3 separate regions of the Homo sapiens genome follow, and regions 1 and 2 are each linked to region 3. Evidence: promoter capture Hi-C in human tissues and cell types (Jung and others, 2019). All regions are on one chromosome and are shown on one strand. The core of a region is centred on a gene start or on the middle of the fragment in contact, and the rest is flanking DNA. Distances in the headings are between cores, read along the strand shown. Region 1 overlaps SHCBP1 (SHC binding and spindle associated 1). Region 2 overlaps VPS35 (VPS35 retromer complex component). Region 3 holds the start of SHCBP1 (SHC binding and spindle associated 1).

Region 1 (3,821 bases), core at 853-3,352, 39 kb after region 3:
TTTTGTTTTCCAGAGTGCCTTGCATAGCATTAGGAAAGAAATTCTTACTATTTTTATGTTTTTTGGTGCCATAAGGTATGAGAGAATAGTGTCATGTTTGATCTTTCTGGTTACTCTGTTTGAATGACACTTGAACTGGCTGCTGATGTTAACGTGTGTGGTAGGGAAAGCCATTGTTGGACTCATAGAAATGATTTTTAAGTTGGGTTGGGGTATTTTAAAACTGACACGTTTTGGAAAATGTGGGGTCTTGTTTCTATCCTCAAATTACAATATTTTACTAAATTCAAATACTTATCTCCAACTAATTGAGTATCTGAGAGAATGGTCATTTTGAATAAGTGTGTCTTTCAACAAAATTGTTAAATGACTTTTTTTTTTTCTTGGCAGAATCAGAAAACATTTATCTAGAATGAAAGAGAGTAGAGCAAGAATCAAGTGTTGGCACTCTTAGCGTGTGTGTGTGTGTGTGTGTGTGTGTGTGTGGTTTTGAAAATGATAAATTGTCAACAACTTGCTAGAAATGGAACAAATGGAAATGTTGATTAAAAATGGCTGGTAAAACTTATCTGTAAAGTACTTTATCTTTGTGCTGTACATTTGTACTGTGTTAAAGGCTAAGAAGTAATTGTAATAAACTCTTATAGTCTTGCCTTTTAAAAACTGATTGTCATTATCTCAAACTGTGACTCACAGGGTGCTGGTATAGAAATCTACCCTGGGAGTCAGTGCACCCTGAGTGACAATGGGATCCATCACTGCAAGGAAGGGATCCTCATTAAGGTGAGCATCAGCCAAAACACCCACTTTTCAATGGATAGAATGGTTTTACCTACAAATTATGCTTTATTAAATTGTTGGGTTCTATTTTCTGGTTTTGAAAAGCATAAACAGTGTACACATTTTGATAATATCAGTGATTGGAATCTCTTGTGAGAATGCTGTTACCTATAGATCTGCAGAAATGACAGAGGAAAGCTGTGTCACTAAGGGTGCAGACTGTGCTACAACATGGGACTAAACATAGCTTTTTCCTTTTATTTTTAGAATAGTGTGAATAAAGAAGATTTTTAAGGCAGGAAATGTTGAATATGACAGTTCCTAAAACATTTGTTTTCAATGTCACAGGACTTCTTAGATGAACATTATGACATTCCCAAGATATCCATGGTGAATAATATAATACATAATAATGAAGGTTATGGTGTTGTCTTGGTGAAACCTACAATCTTCTCTGACCTGCAAGAAAATGCTGAAGATGGAACTGAAGGTATATTTAGTAATTTTTAATATAAAAACCAGACATAATTTATTTCAGCATTAAATGCTGATTAAGGATCTGAGTCTTCCTCTCTTCCTTAAAAAAGGTTGTTGGGATATGCTTGGGCATGGAGAGAGAGAAGCTTGGTAACATTAAGTCATAACATTACAGACTGTGAAAGAAACTTTCAAGGTCAACTAGTTCAACTGTCATTCAAAATCTTGATGTTGTGGTTTCTGTGCAGTTCCCTTCTTATCATGGTTAGCTTTCAATGAGGGTGGATGTGTGATAGCAACGATGGGTGTGTGATAGCAATGGTGGGTGTGTGATGCTATGGTGGGTGTGTGACAGCAACAGTGGGTGTGTGACAGCAATGGTGGCTCCTACTGGCGTTTGTTAAGGCTGGAGACAGTGAAATGAATGTGCCAGGCTGAAGGCTGCATTTCCTGGAGGGGATAGTGGAGTTTACCTCTGTTTTTATTGGTAGAAGTAAATGCCTTCCTGTCACCTGCCTTTCTTGGCAGCGAAGGGGAGCTAACTCAGTGGAAATCTGTGAACTTCAAGCTATGATGTAGACCACTATTAAGTCTCAGTCATAGAGAAGGATTAAGCTTTGATGTAGGTGAGGAAAGTTTAAAGCAGTTTATTTATTTAATCAGCTTTTTCAGGTTGAAAGAGTTTAAAGGGTAGTCCTTGTCATCCTTCAGGATCTGCTCCAGTTACATCTCTGCAAGTTCTTTATTTCTTCACAGGTCTCACAAAAGTAAAATAAAGGTGTCAGCTGGGCAGGACTCATCTGAAAGCTCTGGGGGCAGACTCTGTCTCCAAACGCATTCATATCATTCATGGGCAGAATTCATTCCTTTAGCTCATGGGTCTGAAGTCTCCATTTTCTTGCTGGCTGCTGGCTGTTTGCTGGGGCTGGCACTCAGCTCCTAGAGGCTGCTCTCAGGTTCTTGCCTCATGGCCCCCCCATCTCAGCAACAGAGAACATCCCTCAAGGCAAATCTCTCATGCTCTGAATTTCTCTGACTTCCTCTTTAGCAACCAGCTGGAGAAAACTGATTAGCAATCTTAATTACATTGTAAAATTACAGTGCAAAATTCTTCTGCCATTTAATAGGCATGAAAGTAATACCAGGGGGTGGGGATCATGGGGCCTATCTAGAATTAGCTGCTAGATTGGGACTTCATTTAGAAAAGTGGCACTATCTTATCAATCTGTGCATCCTATCTCCTAACGCAGTGCTTAGCAGATAGTAACTATCCAGGAAATGTCTGTTGAGTAAAAGTGATTCTGGGATGAAAAGGGTAAAGGAAGAGTTCAAAATTGGTGATCCTGTGTGAGGGTCAGGGAACCTTGGTATAGAAAGCAAGGCAGCTGCTTGTTGAGAAGACTGTGTAGAAATATATGTTTTTGTTGGGTTAGCTTGTATATTTAACTTTGTTATTATTTGTTTGTTTCTCCAGAAAATAAAGCGCTTAAAATTCAGACAAGTGGAGAGCCAGATGTGGCTGAAAGAGTGGATCTAGAAGAGCTGATTGAGTGTGCAACTGGTAAAATGGAGCTTTGTGCAAGAACTGACCCTTCTGAGCAAGTCGAGGGAAATTGTGAAATTGTAAATGAACTAATTGCTGCCTCCACACAGAAAGGCCAGATAAAGAAGAAAAGGTTGAGTGAACTGGGGATCACGCAAGCTGATGACAACTTAATGTCACAGGAGATGTTTGTTGGGATTGTGGGGAACCAGTTCAAGTGGAATGGGAAAGGTAGTTTTGGCACATTTCTTTTCTGACTACAGTGATGTAAGTAGATAGCAAAATACTGGATTTTGCACATGCTGCCCTAAGAATCACTGCTGCCATTGTAGTTTGCTGTATTGTCTGTATTTTATATTTGATTATTTGGGCTTGAGTGAAAGGTAGATTTATTTCCATTTGCAGGTGTTGCACATAAAACACTCCCTCTTTATAAGAAAAATCATAAATGCATATAAAATAGAAAATATTTGGAGATTGCTTATCTGAAAGTCTTGCTTTCTTATACACATGGTTCTCTCATATTAAGCCTGGTAGTAACTTTTTAGTGTAATTACCTTTAGCACTTCAAAGACGAGGAAGTAAGGAAGGGAATGCAAGACTAGTGCATAAAAATGCAATAGGTGTCATATGTACAGCATTCTTCTTAGAGTTGCCTTTTCATCCCAATTACAGTGAGTCTGATTTCCATCCTGTATTTGCATAATACTTGTCTTAAAATAAAAGCTTTTATGATTGGGAATTTATCTGCCTAATCAGACTTATTATTGAGACGTCAATGGGACGCATTTTTCTGTTGAGCTATGCAGTCGTCAAAACAGCGATAGACAGCATAGGAGGTTTGAAGCAGAAATGAAATGTGTTATTCAGAGCCAATGTTGTACATAGAGCATTTTCACTATTGCTGAATGGGAATGATTAAAAACAAGGTATTTTTCGGGCCAGGCGGTGGCTCACGCTTGTAATCGCAGCACTTTGGGAGGCTGAGGCAGGAGGATCACTTGAGCCCAGGAGTTCAAGA
Region 2 (3,618 bases), core at 1,068-3,567, 51 kb before region 3:
ATGGTGGCACATGCTGTTAGCCCCAGCTACTCAGGAGGCTGAGGTGGAAGGAGGATAGCCTGAGCTCAGCAGGTGGAGGTTTCATTGAGTGGAGAGTGCGTGACTGCACTCCAGCCTGGGCGACAGAGCGAGACTCTGTCTCAAAACAAAACAAAACAAAACAAAAAAAACAAAAACCTTTTGGGCTCATACAAAATATAGAAAAGCAATAAAGAATAAGATGTCATCCATGATCTCACTACCCAAACCCTGTATCTTTTAAAATAAAGGGGTGTTTTTTTTTTTTTTAGATTAGCTTTATTTGCTCACCGTGAAGATGGACCTGGAATCCCAGCGGATATTAAACTTTTTGATATATTTTCACAGCAGGTGGCTACAGTGATACAGGTTTGTGTAGCATTTCTCCTAAGTTCTCAAAACTTTGAAACTTCTCTGCCTTCCTTTTACAATTGTTTAAAATAAATTGTGTGGTTTTCTAAACATTCCAGTCTAGACAAGACATGCCTTCAGAGGATGTTGTATCTTTACAAGTCTCTCTGATTAATCTTGCCATGAAATGTTACCCTGATCGTGTGGACTATGTTGATAAAGTTCTAGAAACAACAGTGGAGATATTCAATAAGCTCAACCTTGAACAGTAAGTCAGTTACATTTTTGTAAAAATCCTCAAAGATATTTTTGTCCTAGATTTGCTTTTCTTTCTCAATTGTTTTTTGAACTGCTGGCATTTGTCTTGTTTTAATCATGCATTAAGATTGTCATGCTTAGCACTACTAGGGGCAGAAAGTAGTGACCAATTACTTGTTTTTTTATATTAAGGAAATTGTGGTACCTATGGACCATAGGCAGTCTTCAGGGACCAGTGTCTCCAATTTGGATCCCTTTCTGTGTGTCAGGGGCATCCAATCTTTTGGCTTCCCTGGGCTGCACTGGAAGAAGCATTTTCTTGGGCCACACATAAAATACACTAACACTAACAATAGCTGATGAGCTTAAAAAAAAAATCCCAAAAAAACTCATAATGTTTTAAGAAAGTTTACGAATTTGTGTTGGGCCGCATTCAAAGCCATCCTGGGCTGCATGCGGCCTGTGGGCTTTGGGTTGGACAAGCTTGCATGTGACTGAGTTTGTTCTTAAACTGGTAAGGAAACTTTGTCAGGCAGTATTTATTTCCATAAGTGGTGTTTTCCTACGAATCAGCACATGGTGAAAAATGAGGGGCTATGTATATTTAAGGTGCAGAATTAAATTGGTTTAAATATCTTTTCTATTTTGAGCTTTGATTTTGATACCTTAAAGGAAATATCAACAGTACTATTTCCAACCTGAAGCCTCCTCAGCTGTTCTGTCCTAGACTTATGGCGTCCTCTAGTGGCCACTATGGGCAGCTATGATCCTGTTACCTTCCCCAGCAGTTCCCTTCCTGCCCTGTTCCCCACTGCTCTGGCTTGGGTCAAGCCAGGCCTGCCTCCCGCCAACATATTCTTCAGAATTTTACCTCATGTAATCTTCCTCCTTTCTATCTCCCTTCCAGTGGTTTACCTGCATCAAGAAAATTTCTTCTTTTTTTCCTCCCTTTGTGTTACCCTTGTTCTTTTGGTCATTTTTGGTTTTGTGTGTGTGCAAACTGAAAACAAGTCCAGATGTGGAATGATAAGTGTGAGAGAAAATTAAATGATGTGCCAGGTGTGGTGGCTTGCACCTGTAATCCCAGCTATTCAGGAGGCTGAATTGGGAGAATCACTTGAGTCCATGAGTTTGAGAACAGCCTGGGCAACATAGCGAGACCCCGTCTCTAATAAAAAATAAAATTAAAAATAAAAAAAATTTAAATTAAAAAAACTAAATGATGTATCTGTGTCTTTCTCCCCAAGTGAATTTTAAAGTAAAAATAGACAAAGTAATTAGAAATAACAACCTCTAAAGAGGTTGTAATAAATGCCCCAATATGCCTCAATATCTACAGAATGATTTTACTAACAACTACGTAAAAGTCAGTCAGCCTGCTTTTCCTTAATCACCAACATCTGATGCAGAAGAAATAGTTTATGTGTTTTTCTGTTGTGTCAAATTGCTGGTTTTGCATGGAGTTTTTTTCCTATTTATTTTCATCATGAATATACAATACTTGTTGGCTGGCCCCTGGGAACCAAACTACCACTTAAAATACTTCCCTTAGAAATGTCATCAAATTCTAGACAGTCATCTTAACTCCAGCTATACCATCTGTTCATGAGTTGGAAACTGTATCTAGTTTTGTATCAACAGAAAAATAATAGATGAATATATATTTGTGTTTAGATAAGCATTTTTATCCTCCTGAAAGGAGGTTGTTATAGTCTTCTGTGGTGGTATGATTCACTTGACCCATTTCCTTTAATGTGTAATGAAAAATTTCAAATTCTTATGGAACAAATGCTATTTGTGTATATAGAAAGTTAATTTTATTCATTAAGACTTCTGTTTTTCTTTTTGTAGTATTGCTACCAGTAGTGCAGTTTCAAAGGAACTCACCAGACTTTTGAAAATACCAGTTGACACTTACAACAATATTTTAACAGTCTTGAAATTAAAACATTTTCACCCACTCTTTGAGTACTTTGACTACGAGTCCAGAAAGAGCATGAGTTGTTATGTGCTTAGTAATGTTCTGGATTATAACACAGAAATTGTCTCTCAAGACCAGGTAAGAGAATACCTACGTGCTATTTTAGGGAAACAGTGTTACAATTTTAGACTTTGGACCTAGATACCTGAGATGGGAGGGGAGGGTAATTCAATACTAAATAAAATTTACAAGTAACTTTTTCATTATATAAATTAAAAATTGGAGATGTATAAAGAATTATAAAACATTTATAATTCCACCAGATAGAGAATAACCACTGTTAATTAACATTTGGTGCATATCTTTCCAGACTTTTGTCTGTATATGTGTGTATGACATACATGTGTATCGACTTTCTCACCAAAAAAAGGAATATCTTGTTGATACTGTATTGTAATTTTATAACTGGAAACACTTTTGATAATGGCTTTGTATGCCAATGGTTTCACCTCAGTGGGTTTCTTGTGCCTCGCATGTTACAGGTGGATTCCATAATGAATTTGGTATCCACGTTGATTCAAGATCAGCCAGATCAACCTGTAGAAGACCCTGATCCAGAAGATTTTGCTGATGAGCAGAGCCTTGTGGGCCGCTTCATTCATCTGCTGCGCTCTGAGGACCCTGACCAGCAGTACTTGGTATGAGTTTACCCTTAGTATATCCCTGTATCAGCTCCTAGTGAAATCACATGTTCAAGTGCTTAAAATGGTTTAATTCACTTTCTGGTCTTAGATGGTTTTGAAGGAATTGCAACTGAATTAAAGATTCACTTGAACCTGGGAGGCGGAGGTTGTAGTGAGCCGAGATTGTGCCACTGCACTCCAGCCTGGGCAACACAGCGAGACTCCATCTCGAAAAAAAAAAAGATTCATGGCATCCATGGGCTTTTACTTTATATATAAACACATAATTGTTTGTAAACTTCTGGAGCATGTGAGTAACAATTCAGTTGCTCTGATTTCTTTTGAAGACTCTCTGAGAATTACAAAAAAGTCTGTCTTCTTTTGCTT
Region 3 (4,043 bases), core at 740-3,239:
CCCGGCAGCCCGGGCTCTGGGGCGGAAGGAGAACAGTGTCATCTCTTCCTTTGTTGATAAATTGCCAAAGAGTGGGAGCAGGTGGGGTCAGGGGCCAGAGTGCAGGGGAGGGGGCAATGGTGGAGGTGGCGGGGGGAAGCAGAGGGAGGTGGGCTGAGGCCTCGGTGGGGCCAGTGCGACGCTGGCTTAAGGAGCTGGAGGGGTTCCTAATACACATTTAATTCAGTTTCTCTTCCCTAAGAGGCTGCCGGAGTTGGGGCCTCCTCCAGCAGAGACCCTCGGACCCCTGCAGGGCCTGGACTTGGGGTGAACAGGGCTTCAGTCAGCGCAAGTATTCCATTTGCATTTGGTAATTTTTCATGCCACCTATTTATGAATATACAAATCTTTATACCAAATCTATTTTTTAAAACATGGAAAAGTTGCCTTTATGGAAACTTGGCAGAGCCAGAGTGTACACATTCCTAAACCATTAAACAGATTTCTATAACAAAAAAAAAAAAAAAATTTTGTAGAGATGGGGTTTCACCATGTTGCCTAGGCTGGTCTCAAACTCTTGGACTCAAGTGATCCGCCTGCCTCGGTCTCCTAAAGTGGTGGGATTACAGGCATGAGCCACTATGCCTAGCCTGGTTTGAGTAATATCTTGATGGTTGATGAAATATTTGATAATTGGATGAGAAGAGAACTGTGTTGTCTCCAGTGATGCTGCAAATGGGTGAGGAGAAATGCTGCCATTTGTGAGGTTTGTGGGCGGCAAGGTTGAAGAAGAGAATAATGAAAAAGCTAGCGTCATCCTCAAGGCCTGTTGATAGTCTTGATTATTGTTTTCTGTGTTTTTACCTCATGGTGCTCAATATGTATTTGTTCAGTGAGCAAATAAATGTAAGGTCAGATTCTGCAAACAAAAGTCAAAGAAATCTTACTTCCTGGAAAAGTTAGCCCAATTAAGTGCAGCTTTCCAGTCACCCCTCCTGGCTCCATTTTATTTCAGCTGTAAGGGATCCGAGAGACTTTAGCCCAAGGTGTTTCTTCAAAGCAATAAGTGGAAATGTTTCCCCACATTAAGACTGCACAGACGAACTGTCATGACCAGGCTCTTGGTCCCCTGTGGACGCATCCCACTTGGTGTCCTGGTTACCTGGGCTATCTTGGGCTGACCTCATCATTCTAGTAGTGATGGCCTGGCAGAGACATTAAAAGGCTTCTTCATGGAGTCTGGCTGGTTTCACATCCTGGCTTTGCTGGGTTAGATTGGAGAAGTGACTTAACTTCTTAGTGACTCCATTTGCTCATTTGTAAAATGGGTATAGTAATAGCTCCCGTCTCATAGGATCATTGTGAAGATTAAACAGAACAATCCAGGTAACGCATGCAGGAGGGTATCTTGCACACAATATGCAGTAAATGTTAGCCATTATGATGGAGATTATAGTTGTCTTTGATTAATGCAAATTAACAAATTTACTTACTAAATTTAATTTGACATTCTTTGAAAATATGCTCTCTCTCTCTCTCTCTCTCTCTGTGTGTGTGTGTGTGTGTGTGTGTGTATTGAAAGACAGAGAGAGACTGGTGTTTGGTGGTGAAAGTTTTGGGCCCACGTAGGCCAGCATCCTTTTCAGTTGAAGTTGTGCTTGTGGGAGGTGAAATGACTTGCCCAAGGCAATACCACTAGGAATAGCCCAGGTAAGTTTAAATACTATGTTTTTTGACTCTCAACCCAGTGACTTTTCCACTATATCTCATTTCCAGGCATTGCTGGTTCGTTTTTTTCGAAAATCATTCCAAATTATATTCCAATTCGACTTTCTTCAAGTTCATCCCAGAAAAGCAAAGGCCGGGCACTTGAACAAGAACAGCTGTCAGCCTGGGGCGAGGGGGCAGTGTTGGTGGGGGCTGGAGCGGGGCCGGACTCTAATTGGTCCACGGCCTCGGCCCGACTATCAAATCAGCAGAGCCTGCGTCATCACGTCGTTGCCTGGGCTGCCGTCCGCGGAAATTTGAAATGGCTGACGGGTCGCTGACGGGCGGCGGTCTGGAGGCAGCGGCCATGGCGCCGGAGCGCATGGGCTGGGCGGTGGAGCAGGAGCTGGCGTCTCTGGAGAAAGGTGAGCTCTCCATGCCGGGGCCGAGGAGCCGCCTCTGAGCGGAGGCCTGGGGCGTCGGGACCCTAGGAGGGCGCCTGGGTCGCGGGCCTTCCGGACCCGTCTGTCCAGGGTGGCGGGAACGGCGGTGCGCGGCCGGGACCCAGTGACGGGACCTCAAAGTCGGGCGGTACCCAGGGGTGGGGGACTCCCTCTCTTCCCTATCCGCATCTCCCACTCTCCCTGCACTCTCTGGCCTCCGCCCGCCCCGAGGTTGGAGGGAGCTGGATTGGGCCAGGAATTCCCTATCTGGATGGGTTTTGCGGGAACTGTGCATTTACTGTTGCTCAAGGGGCCATTTTTTCATCTGCATCTCAAAGGAGATCACGAACCACACTTCCCTTTTCCGAAGAAGAGAAAAGCTTGAACCCTTGGCTTAGATGGCTGTCCTGTGCACGGAGGGTAGTGACGTGTCCAAAGTGAGGAGCGCCAACTTGGGCCGGAGTCCAGAAATAGAACCGGGGTCTTCTAGTTCTCTGCCCTTTCTTCCTCCTCATAGAGTTTCATTACTATTTTTTTTTTCTGATATTTTAAGCTGGTTCATGTTTTTACGTTAACACTTTCGGTTGTATTGTGTAGCAGAGAGTCCCAACAAAGTGAGAAAACATAAGTGTGACAATTCCACTATTAACCCACCTATCCAACTGGCAAAAGTCACTTGGCTTCAGTTTTCCCATCTGGAAGACTATGCCAATGGTTGTACTTGTGGTGAAGTTGAAGTGAAATAAAGTTTTTAAAGTGGCTGCAAAAATAAATACTGCATGGCATCGCTTATATTGGGAATCTAAAAAAGAGGAAGTTTCAGAAAGAGAGTAGAGTGGTAGTTGCCAGTGGGTTGGGGGAATGGGGAGATGCTGGGCAAAGGGTCCAAAGTTTCAGTTATGCAGTGTGAATAGTTCTGGGGATCTGATGTACATACAGCATGGTGACTATAGTTAATAATACTGTATTATTATTACAGTATTAATAGGCAATGACGTGATGGTGCAATGCGACACAAATTTTGTACTTGAAATTTGCTAACAGAGTAGATCATAAGTGTTCACACCACACACACACAAAAGGTAACTATGCGAGGTGATGGAAATATTAATTCACTTTACTGTGGTAATCATTTCATAATGTATAGGTATATCAAAACATCATGTTACACACTTTATTTTTTATTTTATTTTATTTTTTTTGAGGCAGAGTCTCACTCTGTTGCCCAGGCTGGAGTGCAGTGGCACACAATGTCAGCTCACTGCAACCTCTGCCTCCCGGGTTCAAATGATTCTCCTGCCTCAGCCTCCCAAGTAGCTGGGATTATAGGCGCCCGCCACCACACCCAGCTAATTTTTGTATTTTTAGTAGAGACGGGGTTTCACCCTGTTGGCCAGGCTGGTGTCGAGCTCCTAACCTCAGGTGATCCGCCCATCTCGGCCTCCCAAAGTGCTGAGATTACAGGTGTGAGCCACCGTGCCTGGCCATCAGGTTATACACTTTAAATGTATATAACTTCTATATGTTAATTATACCTCCATAAAGCTATAAAGAATGGTGCTGGAAAAAAAAAGAATGGTGCTGAAGTACTACTATTTCTTTAACAAACATATACATTATGTAATAGGCACTGTTGTAAATTATTAACAATTAATCTTCTTAATTGAAGTGGATGTACTATTATCTTCCCTTTATAGGTGAGGAAGCTGAGGCATTGTCACATAACCAGTAAGGTACTGATGCCTTCTAAGGTTCATGTGCATCAGTGTTTGTGAGCAGTAGACCCTTGAGTACACTTTGGTCATCTGTGGGTCAAGTACTTCTGGTGGCCTGAACAGGGACAAAGAAATGGAAGGAAGGGGGAAAGGGAAGGAGAAAATCAAGGGGGAGGGAGAAAAAAGGTATCTGCTAACA

What was found. The method cuts DNA at HindIII sites, captures the fragments that hold promoters and counts their contacts. A contact is called where the count stands out against the background at its distance.
Region 1: a contact is called between a fragment that was not itself captured here and the fragment with the promoter of SHCBP1 in region 3, in 1 of the 25 tissues and cell types used here (H1 embryonic stem cells).
Region 2: a contact is called between a fragment that was not itself captured here and the fragment with the promoter of SHCBP1 in region 3, in 1 of the 25 tissues and cell types used here (H1 embryonic stem cells).

The regions. Positions count from the first base shown.
Region 1 is chr16:46,580,965-46,584,785 of GRCh38, reverse strand. SHCBP1 (SHC binding and spindle associated 1) reads left to right here. Exons shown (of 13, transcript NM_024745.5): 11 at 697-783; 12 at 1,129-1,270; 13 at 2,732-3,821. The coding sequence ends at 3,057. Among named protein-coding and RNA genes, the nearest start is that of SHCBP1, 39 kb to the left of the region's middle. The HindIII fragment of the contact is 4,695 bases long and covers 1-3,821 here.
Region 2 is chr16:46,671,333-46,674,950 of GRCh38, reverse strand. It overlaps VPS35 (VPS35 retromer complex component), which reads left to right. Exons shown (of 17, transcript NM_018206.6): 9 at 291-387; 10 at 489-637; 11 at 2,479-2,686; 12 at 3,091-3,246. Among named protein-coding and RNA genes, the nearest start is that of VPS35, 16 kb to the left of the region's middle. RefSeq lists a silencer at 1,295-1,464. The HindIII fragment of the contact is 3,907 bases long and covers 364-3,618 here.
Region 3 is chr16:46,619,325-46,623,367 of GRCh38, reverse strand. It overlaps SHCBP1 (SHC binding and spindle associated 1), which reads left to right and starts at 1,989. Exons shown (of 13, transcript NM_024745.5): 1 at 1,989-2,111. The coding sequence starts at 2,009. It also overlaps the pseudogene RAB43P1. RefSeq lists enhancers at 1,671-2,257, 2,258-2,846. The HindIII fragment of the contact is 15,901 bases long and covers 1-4,043 here.